2 separate regions of the Homo sapiens genome follow, and region 1 is linked to region 2. The links are contacts of gene promoters, found by promoter capture Hi-C in blood cells and fetal thymus (Javierre and others, 2016). All regions are on one chromosome and are shown on one strand. The core of a region is centred on a gene start or on the middle of the fragment in contact, and the rest is flanking DNA. Distances in the headings are between cores, read along the strand shown. Region 1 holds the start of GDI1 (GDP dissociation inhibitor 1). Region 2 holds the start of G6PD (glucose-6-phosphate dehydrogenase).

The links. Contacts are between HindIII fragments. The CHiCAGO score rates a contact against its expected background, and 5 or more counts as called.
Region 1: a contact is called between the fragment with the promoter of GDI1 here and the fragment with the promoter of G6PD in region 2, in 7 of 17 cell types (total CD8 T cells, naive CD8 T cells, non-activated CD4 T cells and 4 more). The highest score is 8.0, in total CD8 T cells.

What each region holds. Positions count from the first base shown.
Region 1 is chrX:154,435,367-154,438,403 of GRCh38, reverse strand. It overlaps GDI1 (GDP dissociation inhibitor 1), which reads right to left and starts at 1,250. Exons shown (of 11, transcript NM_001493.3): 1 at 1,105-1,250. The coding sequence starts at 1,149. ATP6AP1 (ATPase H+ transporting accessory protein 1) reads right to left here. Exons shown (of 10, transcript NM_001183.6): 9 at 2,899-3,037; 10 at 1,888-2,722. The coding sequence ends at 2,513. RefSeq lists an enhancer at 1,218-1,718. The HindIII fragment of the contact is 14,364 bases long and covers 1-3,037 here.
Region 2 is chrX:154,542,857-154,548,095 of GRCh38, reverse strand. It overlaps G6PD (glucose-6-phosphate dehydrogenase), which reads left to right and starts at 1,250. Exons shown (of 13, transcript NM_001360016.2): 1 at 1,250-1,307; 2 at 1,933-2,060. The coding sequence starts at 1,941. IKBKG (inhibitor of nuclear factor kappa B kinase regulatory subunit gamma) reads right to left here and starts at 476. Exons shown (of 10, transcript NM_001099857.5): 1 at 351-476. RefSeq lists enhancers at 89-368, 1,671-2,214, 4,827-5,239, 5,231-5,239 and a silencer at 809-1,368. The HindIII fragment of the contact is 7,888 bases long and covers 1-4,629 here.

The sequences.
Region 1 (3,037 bases), core at 1-2,500, 110 kb after region 2:
CTGGCTAGTTGCCTCGCCTAAAATTGGGGTGATGGCTTCATCCGACCACACTCTCCATTGCAACCTTGCTGGGCAAAGGAGTCCCGTCCCCCTCACAAGGCGGAGAGTGAAATAACGGAGGCTTTGAGGGAGGCAGGGCATCCAGCAGACACAGGATGGCCTTCCAGTACCAACACGCCGAGAGGCATCTACCTACGCAGAGCCGCACAAAAAGGCGGATAAAACACAATAAGGCACAGAGAAGACCCAGCTGGACTGCAAAGGACACTCGAAAGGGAGGAAAAGAAAGGCTTAGCACAGTCCTTGAAATTGTAGGCCCCACCCTGGACTGCTCTTTCTTCAAATAGCAGGAGCCCCTGCCGCTGAGGAGGGGCATCTGGGCCTGGACCGAGGAAGAAGAGTCTCTGAGGGGAGTAGGCCAACGGGGTTTTCGGGGAAAGGGGGAAGATAAACACCCTCACCAGTCACTGTCACTAGCCCAAGGACAAAGGCTGCAGATGCTACCCAGCCTGAGGTCTCCATGGGCAACCGAGGTGGGGTTGCGGGAATGTGCTTACTGCCCCCACTGCTGTTCCTTCTGGAACATTCCCTGGATCCCCTGGCCCCAGAAGACGATGAGGAGGCGGGCTGAGGGCCCACTCTGGCGAGGCCCCCTGACCCCAGGTCCTTCTACTTCATCCCCACCGGGATTAGCGCAAGATGGGAACGGACGCTGAGAGGCAACGCTAGGCGGGCAATGGGTGCGGGCGACGGGTGGATGCCGTGATGGGTGGGGGCGATGGGTGGGCGGGGTCGTGGGCATCGGGCCGAGTGGGGGTGCGTTTTCCGGTCCAGCGGGCAGGGGTAGGGAAGATGGGAGGGCGCCGGGGGTCGGACCCGGGTAGCCCAGGAGGCGGCCAGGAAGGGGGCCTCTTCGGGGAGATGGGGTCATGGCAACGAGCAGAGGCGACGTCGCTGGGGGAGCAGCGGGGTGGGCACGGCGCCGGCTTTTCGGGGAGCGGAGCGCAGAAGATGGCAGTGACCAGAGGATGGGCCGGCGGCCGCATCATCGCGGGGGATGGCGAGGGCACGACGCAGGGCCAGGGGCGCCGGGGCCGCACTTACGGTGAGACCGGTCCCCAGCACGATCACATCGTATTCCTCGTCCATGGTCAGGCCTCGGTGCCAGCGCCCGCTCGGCTCCTCCTCCTCCTTCACCGCAGCAGTCGCCGCCGCCACCGCCGCCGCCGCCACCGCACTGGACCAAAGATGGCGGCGCGTCGGCCGTCGCCCGACCCCTCCGCCGCGTCAAAGAGTCCCGCCTCTTCCCGCGCCCCGCCGCAACCGGCAGGGGCCACCGCCTCCCCGGCTCGCCTCCCGGGAGGGCTGCCAGGGCCCGGGCCACAGCACCAGCGCGGCTCCGCGGGCGACGCTGCTCGCCGAGAGTCTAGAGAGGCGCGGGGCGGGGCGGGCGGGGCGGGCCGGCGGCCGGTGCTGCGGCCCAGGAAGAATCCGTGCGCGGGAGCCGCGCGCGCCCCGCCCCACCCGCCGCGCCCCGCCCCGCCCCGCCCCGCGCGCGCCCGCCCACCTCCCCACCCCCGCCCACCCCCCCGGGAGTCTCGGCGCGGCCCCGCGGCCGGGCGCGCGCCGCTGCGGCAGCCTGGGGCGGCCCCCTCACGACGCGAAGGCTGCCATTGTCACGACGGCCTCCTGAGACGCCGAAGCGCACCGGGACTCGGCCCGACCGCCCCTCCCTACCCTGAGCGGTTAGGGCCCAGCTTGCTAAAGCCCCTCCCGGTCTCCGCGGATGCCTCTTCGCCTCCCCCTCGCCAGGCTCCATCCTCCCGCATCCCTCCGGCGAGCACGCGCCTAAAGCCCAGCGCAGAAATGAGCGACAAGAGGCCCAACGCATGGCGACCCGCGTTTATTTTATTAGGAAGGAAACAACCAAGCACCCCATGCTCCTGCCCGGCACTCCCGGTGGGAACATGCCAAACAGCCGGCGATCGCACCCAGCCCACCTGTCGTGGAGGTCCCTTCCTTCTCAGGCCACAGAAATAAACCCGTGTACTTCTTATTGTTAGCACAACATCACCAGAAAACGATAACGACAGCCAAGCAGGACAGACAGTTAAGTAGTACTTCCACACTCCCAAACTCAGGGAGCCCTATAACCTTAAGGAGGGAGCATTTGCTACACAAAAGCACTATCCACAGCCAGGGATGATGTAGCCACAAGAATAAATAAGGAGAAAGGAGACCCTAGAATTCATGTCCCTTACGCCTCACAGCGACGAACCCTGGGAAGCTGGTTGGTCTAGCATCTACGCAGAATATGTACACCTTGTTGGGAGAGATGGGGGCAGCCCAAGAAAGCTCCTCAGCGGGCTGAAGAGGGAGCAAGATGGGCTGAGGGGAGCTTGCAGTTCATGCTGCAGTAGGAAGAGGGAAGCTCTTCAGTCCAGTGCGCTGCAGGGTGGGAAAGCAACAACACGGACACCGTCCCACCCTCAACCCCCCCACTGGCACAGGGTCACACAATCTGGGTCAAAGAAATAGTGGGGCCCTTGTGGTCATCAAAGCGATCCATGGTCTTGAGGCTGAGGATCATGTGCAGGCCATAGGTGAAGATGAAGAGCATGAACAGGGAGGTGAGCAGCCCCATCCAGATGCCGGGGGAGAAGAAGCTGGCACAGTCGCTGGCGTAGGAGAACTGCTCCCCCATTACGTTGAAAGCCTGGATCTGGCAGACACACAGACACGGGTCAGAAAGGACCGTTGGGAGGCCCAGCAAGAACTGGGACAGGGGCAGCGCAGGGACAGGACTCTCAACTACATGCCCAAGCCCAAGCCTCTCTTCGTCTCTCAACCACTAGCCTGGGCTCCCCCACCTGAAGCTGGGCCACGCCCGCTCCATACCTGGAAGTCCTGAAGCATCATCTGCCAGGGAGAGGGCTGCGTGCGGGCCACGAGGAGACTACCCTTCTTGCTCAGGCTGCTGACATACTCGCAGTGGAAGGAGTAGATGCTGGGCCCTGTGACCTGGGAAGCATTGAAG
Region 2 (5,239 bases), core at 1-2,500:
AGATACCTAGCTGCCAAACTATATGTGAGGCATTTCCGAAGAATTTAACGACCTCGATAGAGCGCAGTCAAGTTTGGTGAACAGAATATGTCTCTGAACTAGAGGAGTCCTCACACAAGGAGTAGGGTCAGACCCCGCAGTGGAGGAGGAGGGAGGAGTAGAAACAGTCCAGCTCGCCGCCCAAGTAACCTGGGTCCTGAATCGGCCCGCCTTGGCCAGTGCTCCAGAAGCGCGGAGCAGGAACGGGCTGGGGCCCAAAAAAGAGGGGGGAGCCTGAACGTCCGGGGGAAGTTTCGGAGGCGGCGGAACGCCCACGGATGGAACCCTGTCTTTGGGGAAAAGGACCACACCTGTCAGCAGAGTCCGTCAGACGTGAGAAGGGTGGGAGCGGCGGACTGTGAACGCTGGTAGGGCCCCGGCGCTCCGAGAAAGTCCCAGTTTCGCGGTCGCCCTTCCCTACCACGCTTCCGGCTTCCGGTGTCATAGCTGTGGGATCCGGAAGTAAAAACACAAGCCCCGCCCCCGAGAACTCGGGAAGCCGGCGAGAAGTGTGAGGCCGCGGTAGGGCCGCATCCCGCTCCGGAGAGAAGTCTGAGTCCGCCAGGCTCTGCAGGCCCGCGGAAGCTCGGTAATGATAAGCACGCCGGCCACTTTGCAGGGCGTCACCGCCTACACGCCCCCTCGTCTCTCGGACGGCGGCGTCTAGCCTCGGGGCGCTCGGCCGCCCCGCCCTCTCCGGGGGAGGAATCAAGAAGAGACTGCCCAATAGGGCCGGCTTGACCCGCGAACAGGCGAGGGTTCCCGGGGGAGTGGCGCGGCAGAAGGCCCCGCCCAGGAGCCGAGGGACAGCCCAGAGGAGGCGTGGCCACGCTGCCGGCGGAAGTGGAGCCCTCCGCGAGCGCGCGAGGCCGCCGGGGCAGGCGGGGAAACCGGACAGTAGGGGCGGGGCCGGGCCGGCGATGGGGATGCGGGAGCACTACGCGGAGCTGCACCCGTGCCCGCCGGAATTGGGGATGCAGAGCAGCGGCAGCGGGTATGGCAGGCAGCCGGCGGGCCGGCCTCCAGCGCAGGTGCCCGAGAGGCAGGGGCTGGCCTGGGATGCGCGCGCACCTGCCCTCGCCCCGCCCCGCCCGCACGAGGGGTGGTGGCCGAGGCCCCGCCCCGCACGCCTCGCCTGAGGCGGGTCCGCTCAGCCCAGGCGCCCGCCCCCGCCCCCGCCGATTAAATGGGCCGGCGGGGCTCAGCCCCCGGAAACGGTCGTACACTTCGGGGCTGCGAGCGCGGAGGGCGACGACGACGAAGCGCAGGTAACCGGCCGGGCGGGCGCCGCGCAGGCGGAGGAGCGTACTGTCCCGCGCTGCGCCGCGCGGCGGTAAAATACACGCTGTTTGTTGTGCTTGAGAACCGAGCAGAATCGAGAGGGTCTTAACCAATCCCTTTATACCCCGCACCTCCTCTCTTGAGCCCCTGAGACCCCGAGAGCGAAGGGGACTTGCCGACCGGGGTCACCCAGCTTGGCAAGGGGAGGGCTGGAGCTGAACTCCAGCATCTGCACCATCTCCCATGCTCCAGGTCATTGTGGAGTTCCCGCTACAGTCGGGAATGAGATGGTCCTGGGCACGCAGTTCCATGCCCCACAAGGATTTTACTCGGTTGTCCAGAATTGATGCTGTAGTCGGAATACACCAATGCTTTGAGTAATTTTGTAATGTACACCCTGAATGAAGGCTGCCTAGGAGAGAGTGGCTGGAGCCCAGAGCCAGCAGTTTCTAACCCATCAACCACTCCCCAATGCCCAGCCGTTCACAAGGAGTGATTTGGGCAATCAGGTGTCACCCTGGTGTGAGACCCCAGAGGAACTCTCAAGAAAGGGGCTAACTTCTCAATGCTCTCCTGTTCTTCTGCCTTGTTAACGAGCCTTTCTTCCACCAGACAGCGTCATGGCAGAGCAGGTGGCCCTGAGCCGGACCCAGGTGTGCGGGATCCTGCGGGAAGAGCTTTTCCAGGGCGATGCCTTCCATCAGTCGGATACACACATATTCATCATCATGGGTGCATCGGTGAGTATCTCCCAGGCCCCAATCTTAAAAGCCAGGAAGTGCCTGCTCCATGCCTCAGCTTTTCCAACTAATTGTTGCAGGGCCCCACAGGCTCTGCTAAGTTGAGCTCCTCCTCCCGCTCCTGCTAGTGCGCCAGGATCATCCCGGCTCTACCTGGTGTGCATATGCACTTGCAAGACTTTTTTTTTTTTTTTTTTTTGGAGACGGAGTTTTGCTCTGGTCGCCCAGGATGGGGTGCAGTGGCGCCATCTTGGCTCACTGCAACCTCGGCCTCCTGGGTTCAAGCGATTCTCCTGCCTCAGCCCCCCAAGTAGCTGAGATTACAGGCATGCACCACCACACCCGGCTAATTTTTGTATTGTTAGTAGAGACGGAGTTTCACCATGTTGACCAGGCTGGTCTCAAACTCCTGACCTCAAGTGATCCGCCCGCCTCGGCCTCCCAAAGTGCTGGGATGACAGGCATGAGCCACCACGCCCGGCTGCAGGACGTTTCTGAACCCTGTGCCTAGCCGCTGAATGTAGCCCTTAATCCTGGAGTTGCAGGCTCTTTAGGGACTGTCTAGATGGACTTCTTGGGGAAAACAGGGAATGCTATTCATTCTGTAGTTTTTTCAGACCTGTTCATGCCTTAACAAATGAGTTCCAAAGGCAGGATCTGAGGCCTGATCTCTGCCTCTTCACTAACACTTCAAGTTCCGTCGATACAAACACTTAGCTTTTCTTTGAACACTGTCTCTTTGCCTCAATTTCGAAAGCCTACCAAGGAGCTCTGCCTCACCCCACCTGGCCCCAATTGTCCAGCTTGTAGAACCGCCATTCTGCACTCATAGGAAAGACAAAAGAATAGTATAGCATGAGGATTTCCATGGGAGGGGAGGGAGGGGTGGTCCTAGGACAGCCATCGCCCGAGACTAGAGCACCCTCCCCTGTGTCCCATGGGGCAGTGAGACTGTGCAGGGGCTGGTGGAACAAGGGCTTCATCTCAAATTACACGTGGTCTCAGTTTTCACTTTTAACCCTGGATGCACTCAAGAATCTCTCTGCTCATTACTGTATGACCATCTTTGCCATTAACTTACCTTGTAACCTTGAGCAGGAGCTCTATCAAAACTAGTTAGTTCTTCCACATCGTGCGCCCCTCAGTGCTGGCTGAGCTCAGTGGTTCTTTGTTCACATAGAACAACGCGCTGTCACACTTTGTCAAACCTACTCCTTGACACCTTTGTACTTCTGATCAGAACTTAGAAAAGGAGAGCCAAAAGGGAATGAGGAGGCAGCCGAGGGAGAAGGGCTCTGCCAGTGGCAGAGTAAGGAGGGGCCATTGTCCTCTGACTCCCCATAAGCCTGAGACCCAGGAGAGGTACCAGGTGGAGCCCACAGTAGATTGGGCTTGGCCTCAGCCCCAGCCCCAGCCTGGTCCCCTCAGAAGAGCCATACCTGGCCGGGCACGGTGGCTCACGCCTGTATTCCCAGCACTTTGGGAGGCCGAGGCAGGTGGATCGCCTGAGGTCAGGAGTTTGACACCAGCCTGGCCAACATGGCGAAACCCAGTCTCTACTTAAAATACAAAAATTGGCTGGGCGCAGTGGCTCACATCTGTAATCCCAGCACTTTGGGGGGCCAAGGTGGGCAGATCACAAGGTCAAGAGATCGAGACCATCCTGGCCAACATGGTGAAACCCCATCTCTACTAAAAATACAAAAATTAGCTGGGCGTGGTGGTGCGTGCCTGTAGTCCCAGCTACTCAGTAGGCTGAGGCAGTAGAATCGCTTGAATCAGGGAGTCAGAGGTTGCAGTGAGCTGAGATCGCGCCACTGCACTCCAGCCTGGCGACAGAGCGAGACTCTGTCTCAAAACAAAACAAAACAAAAAGGCCGGGCGCAGTGGCTCACGTCTGTAATCCCAGCACTTTGGGAGGCTGAAGCGGGTGGATCATGAGGTCAGGAGATTGAGACCATCCTGGCTAACATGGTGAAATCCCGTCTCTACTAAATAAAAAATTAGCCAGGCCTGGTGTGGGCACCTGTAGTCCAGCTACTCAGGAGGCTGAGGCAGGAGAAAGGCGTGAACTCGGGAGGCGGAGCTTGCAGTGAGCAGAAATCGCAACACTGCATTCCAGCCTGGGTGACAGAGTGAGACTCCATCTCAAAAAAAAAAAAAAAATAACAAAAATTAGTTAGGTGTAGTGGCACCCATCTGTAATCCCAGCTACTTGGGAGGCTGAGGCAGGAAAATCGCTTGAACCCAGGAGGTGGAGGTTGCAGTGAGCTGAGATGGCACCATTGCACTCCATCCTGGGTGACGGAGTGAGTGAGACTCCATCTCAAAAAAATAAAAATAAAAAGAGCCATACCTGCATCAGCCACAAACCTTAACAGCCAGGACTCTGACCGTTAAACCCTTAGTCCAAGAAGCAGACTGGAGGAGAAGGTAACTGAGGTTGCTTTCTCCATCCCCACCCCATGCTGTCACAAGGCACTGCAACAGAGCAACCCAGGCCACAATGATAGCTTATGACTCCTGGCCTTCAGCTCTTATTAGACACCTCATTGAGAGCATCCAAGCTTGCTGTGTGAGTTGGAGCAAGTGTCTTCCTTTTCCTGAACCTCAGCATTTCGTGTAGCAAATGACAGCTTTTGAAACGAGGGCCCAGGGTCCTTAGGCTTTTCCAAGCTGATTTTGTCATTTCACTGCCTCCGCCTGTGGCCAGCTTCGGGTTGGGCAACTTTGTTTTGTTGAAATCAGTAGGGTTCCCCTTTGCTCTCCTCTGTTCTGAGAGTGACAACCTGAGGCTTTCAAAGCAGAAATAGGAAGTGCCAGCTCCAGCACTGTGGGTAGGGGACAAGGGGTCCTCTCTCTGAAGAGCCTCGTGGTTTGTTTTTTCCTCTTCCTGCTGTGGGGGAGATGGGAGGTGGCGTGCTCAGGCAGCACCTGGAACAGCTCCGGCTCCCAGGCTTCTTCCACGCCTGATGCCTCACTCGGTGCGGGAGGTAGGCAGGGTGGCACTTGAGGGCACGTGATCCTAGAATCTGCTGTTCCAGGAAAGCAGCCCATTCTCCGTTCATTGAGCAGACAGCGATTGGGTACTTCTGGGCCACAGCAGCCAGTCCCTGCCCTCCTCATGGGACCTATGTGCTATTGCGGCCAGGGAACCACGGCAAGTAAGCAGACCAGCA